Linked DNA regions of Homo sapiens: region 1 is linked to region 2. The links are contacts of gene promoters, found by promoter capture Hi-C in blood cells and fetal thymus (Javierre and others, 2016). All regions are on one chromosome and are shown on one strand. The core of a region is centred on a gene start or on the middle of the fragment in contact, and the rest is flanking DNA. Distances in the headings are between cores, read along the strand shown.

Region 1 (4,816 bases), core at 851-3,350, 120 kb before region 2:
AATTCCCTGAGGTTGGGAGGCTTAGACAGTGTCCATTGGCAGAAGTGGTATTGCCTTCTCAGAATATAATGGTTATCATTTGACTTATGAGAGTTGTCTGTTATTTAAATTTGATACTGATATATTTAGTTTGTGTAATACTCTATTAAAATTCACAGGTGTTACGGGTATGGGATCCAAGAACATGTGCAAAACTAATGAAGCTTAAAGGGCACACGGATAATGTGAAGGCATTGCTATTAAACAGAGATGGCACGCAAGTATGCAGTTTCATTTGGGTGTTTACCTAATAACCTTGTTAGAAATTTCCGCACTTTGTATACTATTGCATAGGTTGATTTGAACCGAAAGCCACACTTATTATAAATTGTCTAATTAAAAAATTTTAAAATACTAAATTGCACATATAAGCTACATTTAAAAACTATTCTATTTGCATCACTTTTAACAAAACAAAGAATTTCCTTAGAATAATTCTGATGCAGATGAGTATATGCATTTATGGTGCATAGGGGCTAAAATAACTAAAAACATTACCTGTGTAAAGCAAAAGGAAGCTTTGATATCAAATGCTTTTTGCCAGTGTATTAAGTGGAAAATTTGCTCACAGTGGGTCTGACTTAGGGGCACATTTTGTCAGTTGACTATGTAGATATAGTTGATAAATTTAGTTTTCTAACATAATGCTCAGAGTGAACATTTCAAAGAAAAACATTTTGGTAATGTTATACATTAGCTCTGTTGGCCACGTAATTTGTGAATTATAAATCACAATTCTGTTCTGTAGCAATGGAAAATACTTTTTCATCAATGTAGATAATAAAAAACAAAAACTGAGCATCATTTTATGGGTATGACATATGTCTACCATGTACCCTTGACTCAGCCATTTTTTTTCCAGAATGCAGTGATAAGTCAGAGATAACTGGAATTGATTGTGATAGGGTTAGAAAAGGGCAGGTAGAAAGATGATGAGGTGAGAAACACCATCAGTTTCTTTTCCTGTGGAAGTTAAGACTTTAGACATGAAATTGCTAAAATTTCACGTCTAAGAAATTGCTTTAGACATCAATCAGAGAAGCCGTCGCCTCCAGAAATGAACAGAAGGTTTGGAAACTAGTCTAAGGAAGGAAATCATTTTTCAGAACCAGGAGAAGAAAGATTTAAAGATACCTGTGGAGGTATTTGGAGATGTGAAGGATCTTTTTTTTTTTTTTTTTTTAATACTTTAAGTTTTAGGGTACATGTGCACAATGTGCAGGTTAGTTACATATGTGTACATGTGCCATGCTGGTGCGCTGCACCCACTAACTTGTCATCTAGCATTAGGTATATCTCCCAATGCTATCCCCCCACCCCCACAACAGTCCCCAGAGTGTGATGTTCCCCTTCCTGTGTCCATGTGTTCTTATTGTTCAGTTCCCACCTATGAGTGAGAATATGCGGTGTTTGGTTTTTTGTTCTTGCGATAGTTTACTGAGAATGATGATTTCCAATTTCATCCATGTCCCTACAAAGGACATGAACTCATCATTTTTTATGGCTGCATCGTATTCCATGGTGTATATGTGCCACATTTTCTTAATCCAGTCTATCATTGTTGGATATTTGGGCTGGTTCCAAGTATTTGCTATTGTGAATAGTGCCGCAATAAACATACAGGATAGGATTTCACTTTAGTCCTTAATTTGCTTATCTGCAAAGTGAGAATCATAATATATAGTTTATATAGTTGGTGAGAGTGTGTGTATATGTATATATATGTGTTAATAATAAGTATTTTCTTAACTGTAAGCCAGGGCATTTCCTAGAGCTCTCAAGTTCCTTTGTGGCCTCATTTTCACATGACTGTAAGAATTACCCAGTGCAGTCAGCTCCTCACTGTTTTGCAGTGTAGCTGCAAGGCTGCACTTGAGATGGTTGCCCGTGTCTCTTCAGTTAGCTTTGCCAGGATTGGGCGGGATCATATCATCTCCATGGTTTCCAGAAGGGGGCTATGGGCCTGGCAGACCTTCTAAAGCTCTACCTGTCTGCTCCATCTCTTGTTTCCTATCTATGCAATTATGAATGTGCTTCTATAAAAGATGATTTAAGTATCACGTGTACAGTTAGAAATGCACTTCATCTGAAGTCAGCTACAGTCATTGTAAGCAGAGGAAATATTGTGGTTCTACTTTAAAAACTGCCTGTTAGTCTCAGAGTGCAAACTTGATAGGTATCACTCTTCATCTAGTTTCTCTTCCACCCATTTTCCTTATTGGCAACTATGGACTAAATGTAAAATTACCACCAACAACCAAGCATATTTACGTTAGTGAATTGATCAACAAAAAACTATAATAACTGCTTATTTGGGAAAAAGAGATGAGAAAAAAAGAAACTCTTACTGATTAATGAATTGACCAACAAAAAACTATAATTACTTATTTGGAAAAATGAGGTGAGGAAAAAAGAAACTTCTACTTACAGATTCTTGAATTCTTGTAATATGGAAGAGGTGGTTATCAGTTACTGGGCCAAAGTTTATATTGCATCCTGCTAAATTGCCCTGTGAGCTTGTAATATAGGGTACCTGGTGGCTTTGTAAATCAGGAATTGGCAGTAAGATACATATCTTATAGGCCAATGAATCCCATGAATATCTACCTGTTGCCTGATTCTTTTGTTGTAGAATAAGATTCTTATTTACCAAATTTATTTGAGGTTCTCCCTAAGGGAGTTCTGCCTGTAAAGAGATCAGCATTGCAGTTGCTTTGATTGGTGCTAACATTATTGGGCAGAGCCACCTATCTTTTTATTCCTTTTACTTAGGCAATTCATTGCTTGAGGAGCTGGGACAACCTGCCATCTTGATTTGAGTCAGTCATGTCCTTGTATGTCACTCAAAGGGTTCTTTTGGTAATACAAGTCTGCTGATCCTAGCTTATGGGTCTGAGGGTCTCAGAGCATCAGGCCACTTATTGCCCCAGCTTATGTCGTCCACTTGGCTGATCTCTGTTGGCACTTGAGATTGTGTGTTAGTGACCATCCCGGGAACACTCCTGTTGGTCAGCAGCAACTTGGCCTCAGTACACTGGTACTTCCTATCTTCATTGGCAGAAACAAAGAGCACCTGATTAGGGCTACAGACTATTCCACTAAATCTGATTTAGCAGAATCATTGAAGGACATTCTGTCCTAGTCCCAGGAGTTACCTCATAATGAACATCTTCATGTTTATCTATGTTTTTCTAGTGGAAGGATGGAGGCAGTGGAAATGTTTTGATGACTCCTCCAGCTCCTACAAGATCTCAGGCACTATAATTCCTATAAAACAGGACATTCTTTAATTATACTACCAAATGCTGCGAAGAAGTTGGCCAACATAATACTTTTAAAGTGGTTGCTTTGTTGGGGGATCTGCTTTTCCGTAGTCTTAGAATACTGATTACCATCAGAGATTACTTGGCGTTCTATATCAGGGTTGATAAAACTGTGTTTCCTTATCTGCTTCCAACTGTGCACCCTTAGTTTGGGACTTATCCTTTCCTGTTACAAGTTGCCCCAGGCCACGAGGACTTCTAACCATCATATCTTACTTTCCTTGTCCTCTTTAAGTTGTCAAATCTTACTCTGTAGATGCATAGTCTAGGATCTGAGGGATCAAAGCTTTACTAAAAGCTTTGCCACCTCAGAATAACACCTCTTCCTGGAATGGGGAGCCCCTCCTTGGCCCCTACACCATCAGATTGCCACATTTCTCACTCACATATGTTGCAGATTTGCTTTAACTTTGCTCCTGACGTTTGCTTTATTGGTTAGTTTCTTGGTTCCCTTGTAAACTAGCTGGAATAGGTTATTAAACTACTGATGCTCCTGGCATCTTGTGGGAGAGTTTCCTAGTATGTGTTCATTTAATTAAACATGCTTAGAGTTCTCAAGGGCCCTTAAAGTCATGGGGCAGGCCAGTAAATTTTTATTCCTGAAGGCCTCATGTATTTGGGCACCTTCCAAATCTCCAAGCCCACAACTGTCTTTCCTTCTTTGAAGCTCTGCTTACTTAACTTCATACTCCAGCACCAGCAATTGCTTTTTCCTCCGGGCCATTCTTTTTCCTAAGGAAATCAAGTTTTTATACTCTTCTGCAAGTCACCACAGTAACATGCTGTGTGGATGCAGGGTGTCTAATTCAGTCTTTTTCCACCTGAGCACACTCACAGTGTGCTCAGCCCTAATTTGTGTGTCAGCAGCTTCTATGTAGTTGACTCTCTTGAGCCATCAGAAATTGTCAGAATTGCCAGTGTTAACTCACTTGAGGCTCATATGGAAAGTGTCCAACGCAAAGAGTGAATGGTAAGCCTGAGACTAGATTTTGTTTCTGATTCCCGTCAGTAGAATCCAAGAGACCTGGCCTCATCAGGAATCCAGAGCCATGAGACAGAGGTGTAACCCAGGACTTCAAAAGGCTTGCTGGCCTAGTGCAGTGTTTGTCAAAGATAGTGAACATCAGAATCACCTGGAGAGCCTGTTAAAGCACCAGTTGCTGGGTTCCAACAGAGTTTCTGCCTTGTTAGCTCTGAATGAGACCCAATAATTTATATTTTAACAAGTTCCCAGGGGACGCTGATGCTGCTGGGACCACACTTTGAGACCCATGGGCCTAGTGCATACAGCTACCTTCATTTCCACTGCTTTCAAACTCTATCTCCCTTAGTAGTAGATAATGCGAGTAGGGCTTGTCTACAGGATTGACCAGAAATCAACAAGTGGCCAGGTAGAGAGGACAAAGGCAGTTCTGCTCAGAGATTTCTCCTGCTGGAGTATCTCTAAGCATAAT
Region 2 (4,250 bases), core at 252-2,751:
CAGAAGGAGGAGAGAGGAAACTGAGACCTGCTGACCCCATGCCCACCCTGGCATGTCCACCAAAGACATCAGAACCTTTGGGGAATGTGAGCTCTGAAACCTGCAGCCTGAGTCTCATCAAAGCTCTGGGTGGTTTTCTTTCATTTCTGAGCTCCAATGAGGATCCCCTGCCCAAGGCAAACCTGAGCCTGTCTCCACCTCTACTCCATCCTGTCACCACCAGGGTGGCCTGAGCAGATGGTGTGTGCACACCATCAGCTTCACCCCACCCCCGCCCCCAGGAATTTCCAGAATCTCTGCTAAGGCCACAGACAGTTATTATCATGGAGTCCAGGGATGTCAGGCCTAAGGACCCTCAGAGGTCACTCAATCTAAACCCCTTATTGTTCAAATAGGGAAACAGAGGCCCAAAGAGGGGAAAGGAGCTGTCCAAGGAGGCTCAGCAAGGCAGTAGCAAAGCCTGAAGCATGTCTCCTGACTCCTGGCCTTCCCACCACCATCTTTGCCTGGCTTGAGACTGCTGGGACAAGTGTAGAGTCAGGACAGAATTCATAACTGGGACCAGACTTACGTGGGGTGAGCCCCAAGAACTGTCCTAGAGCTTGGTCTCCTAGGGCTGGGCCAGCCTCTCAGGATGGTCCCCCTGCTGTCCTCGGGTCACCTCCTCCTTGGCCCAGCTGGCTCCATATGTCTTTACATCTGGGCAAATTCAGATCTGGTCTCCCTCCCGTGAGCCCCCCAAATCTGCCCTGGGGGCTTTCCCACTGGGCAAGACTATGGACATGGGCAGAGTCCGAATTCCACCCCAGGTTTTAGGCTATGATATGTAGGGAGCTGGGCTCCGGCCAGCCCCTGGGAGCTATCCCTGGGCCAGATATGCCAAGAGTGTCATCCACAACAACTAGGCATGGGGCTTGTTCTAGCAATGCACACTCAGGCCTACTTACAGCCCCCTGCCCCCACCTCTCTCCTGTTCCTCCTTCCTCCAGATCCTGGGCCTGCCTGAAGCTTCCCTGGGAGGAAGCCCTGAAGCCTGAGGCACTCCATACCTGTATTTTAAAAATCACAACTCCAGGCCTTTCTGGATCATGCCAGCCTGGCAGGAGCCTATCCTTTCTGCTAGCTTCAGGCCTGTGGCAGCCACTCTGAGAGCTCCCATGGGGCTCACACTGTCTTTACCTCCTTTGTGGGTTCTTTATGTCTGAGACTTCCACTCACCTCCTCCCATGCATGCCCCTCAATCTCCTTCCCCTACTCAGAGCCATTCCTAATACGTCCATTTCAGAAGGAGAGGGGATCCCAGCTGTGAAAGCCAGCCTTGCTGTGGAAGGATGGAGAGGTAGGTTACTCACCAAGGGTCTCTCTTGGCTGATGGGGTGTTTGTGGTCTGTAGCAGCTGTGGTCTCAGGGTTCGTCGTTCCTCTGGAGGTTCTTGTTCAAATTGGTTCTGTTCTGCTGGCTCCAACAGACACCTTCTTGCTGCCCTGGCTCCAGGTCTCTGTCCCCTGCCAGCCCCAGCAGCTGCCTTTATCTTGCTGGCTAGTGGGTGGGCCGTGGTGGGGGCGGGTGGGAGAGGCTATGTTCCGAGTATTAAGTGGTTCGGTTATTTTTAGGTCTTGTGGAAGTCACTCTTCCATCCTGGGGAATCAGTTACATGTCCTTTGGGCTGGGGAGGGGAAACAGAGGGGGAGAAGCTTCATTCATCCAAAGTCTGATCTGGGGATTGGGGTCAGTGACTCAGCTGGGTTGTGAGGTTGGGGGTGTCCCAGACTATTTTGAGAGAGTGACTAAGAAGAGGCATCTGACACCTTGGACAGCTTGCTCCCGTCTTGTGAGCCCCCATCATTCTACTCTGGCCCTGCCTCTGACTCTTCCTGACGTGTCTCCACCCACCGTGCCAGGAGACTGGAGGTCTCCTGAGGGCAGGCTGGGCACCTCCTCCTCTGTTCTGAGCCTGGATACCTCTGAGTGTGATGCTCAGCTCTCTTTCTTCCCCATTCCCTTCTGCACTAAAGAGTTCCTTCTTTCTTATCCATTCCACCCTGTGCCCCACAGCACAGGTCAACACAGCCCCGATGAAGCTGGATTTGGGGGGAAGACATCTGAATGACCAGGCCCAGCTCTTCACTGGGCCGAGATTGGCCAGGCCCAGCTCCTCCTTTGCACCACTACACCCAGTTAATTTTTGTATTTTTAGTAGAGATGGGGTTTCACCATGTTGGCCAGGCTGGTCTCGAACTCCTGACCTCAGGTAATCCACCTGCCTCGGCCTCCCAATGAATGAATTCCACAGCAGGACTCTATGGTTTTCATTCCAGATTATCTGAGTCCTTTCTTCTCGACTCTTCCCTCTGACTCAGGGCCCAGGCTTTCTGGGAATGGAGGGGAGGGGAAGGGCGGCATGCAGGGAGCTGACCGTGGGGTTATTTCTGACCCTGGAGTCATCAGCTTCCCAGTCACAGATGGAGTGGCGGCGGGGGTGGGGGGGTCACACCTGCCTCCTCCTTTGCTTACCAGGGCGTGAGGGGCCCAGGAGGCCCAAGAGATCCTGGCAGTCAGACCAGTGTGGTGAAGGATGTCAGGGGACCATCTGCAAAAAACTCGAAAGAGGTGTTTTGTCCTAGGTGGGCCTGGCCCAGGCTCCATGCCTGTGGGTATGCAGGTGCATTCTGTGGCCTGGCACATGAGGTCTTCCTTCTGACTCCCCAAATGCCCTCTGGTACCAGGGGGTGATGCCAGACATTGCTCACTTTTTCCATGTAGTCAATGTCAGTCCTGCAGCGTCAGCTGGGATGGGGGTAAGGACATCTGGGAACCCCCTCTTCCTGGTCTCCCTCCCTCTTGTCTCTTCCCCTGCTCTTTTCTAGCCCTCTGCCTGTCCCCCAGGCTCCTGGCTCTCTCTAGGAAGGGCAGGGAGACCGATGTACCAGTGTTTCAGGGAAAGGGCAGCCTTAGGTTTCTCAGGATTTCTCCTGGGAGGAGCTTTCTCCCTGTGGGTACTGAAATTTCTTACTTTCTAGGATAGTTTTGAGAATTGAAGGAATTATTATATGAAAAGAGTGCCTCCAGCCAGGCACGGTGGCTCACGCCTGTAATCTCAGCACATTTCGGCAGGCTGAGGCTGGTGGATCACTTGAGGTCAGGAGTTCGAGACCAGCCTGACCAACATGGTGAAACCTTGTCTCTACTAAAAATATAAAAAATTAGCTGGGTGTGGTGGCACACACCTGTAATCCCAACTACTTGGGAGGCTGAGGCAGGAAAATTGAATCTGGGAGGCAGAAGATGCAGTGAGCTGGGATCGCACCCCTGCACTCCAGCCTGGGCGATAGAGCAAGACTCTGTCTCAAAAAAAAAAAAAAGTGCCTGAGAGTACTTAGCACATAGCCTATGCTTTAGAAGAGCCAGCTATTATACTGTATATAATATAAAAAGAGAAAAGCCCCTAGGTGGAACTCACTTTTGTACTCACCTCCTGTGATAACTCATGGGAGAAATTCCTCAGGCCTCAATATTAGGAAAGAGGCTCTTCCTGAGCACTTGGTTTCTTTGTATCTAGTACAGCTGTGCTGTCCAATAGAGTTGCCACTAGCCAAATGAGGCTATTTAAATTTAAGTACATTAAAATGAAATAAAATAAAAACTCAGTTATTTCACTACACTAGCCATATTTGAAGTGCTCCATAGAGACAAGTGGCTAGCAACTATTATATTGATTTTGTTTGCTTGTTTGTTTTTGAGACGGAGTTTCGCTCTGTCGCCCAGGCTGGAGTGCAGTGGCGCGATCTCGGCTCACTGCAACCTCCACCTCCCGGGTTCAAGCGATTCTACTGCCTTAGCCACCCGAGTAGCTGGGATTACAGGTGTGTGCCACCGTGCCCAGCTAATTTTTGTATTTTTAGTAGAGATGGGGTTTCACCATGTTGCCCAGGCTGGTCTCAAACTCCTGACCTCAGGTGATCCACCTGCCTCCGCCTCCCAAAGTGCTGGGATTACAGGCATGAGCCACCGCACCCAGCCTGAAACTATTATATTGAATAGTGCAGAATGTTTGCATTATTTCAGAAAGTTCTACGGATAGTGCTGTTATAGATGTTAAAATAAATAAGAAAATAAATTTTTCTGGAAGGAGAATTGTCAATAGAATAAACAATTTTTATGACATATGGTGTTTCTCTTTGACTTGGCTGCTAGGAAACTCAGAGCTAAATTTTTAACCTAGCAAGTAGACTTTATGGTCCAAATCCTGT

The links. Contacts are between HindIII fragments. The CHiCAGO score rates a contact against its expected background, and 5 or more counts as called.
Region 1: a contact is called between a fragment that was not itself captured here and the fragment with the promoter of XIRP1 in region 2, in 1 of 17 cell types (activated CD4 T cells). The highest score is 5.2, in activated CD4 T cells.

What each region holds. Positions count from the first base shown.
Region 1 is chr3:39,069,485-39,074,300 of GRCh38, forward strand. WDR48 (WD repeat domain 48) reads left to right here. Exons shown (of 19, transcript NM_020839.4): 7 at 159-260. Among named protein-coding and RNA genes, the nearest start is that of WDR48, 20 kb to the left of the region's middle. The HindIII fragment of the contact is 3,091 bases long and covers 556-3,646 here.
Region 2 is chr3:39,191,094-39,195,343 of GRCh38, forward strand. XIRP1 (xin actin binding repeat containing 1) reads right to left here and starts at 1,502. Exons shown (of 2, transcript NM_194293.4): 1 at 1,353-1,502. RefSeq lists an enhancer at 273-1,262. The HindIII fragment of the contact is 686 bases long and covers 1,007-1,692 here.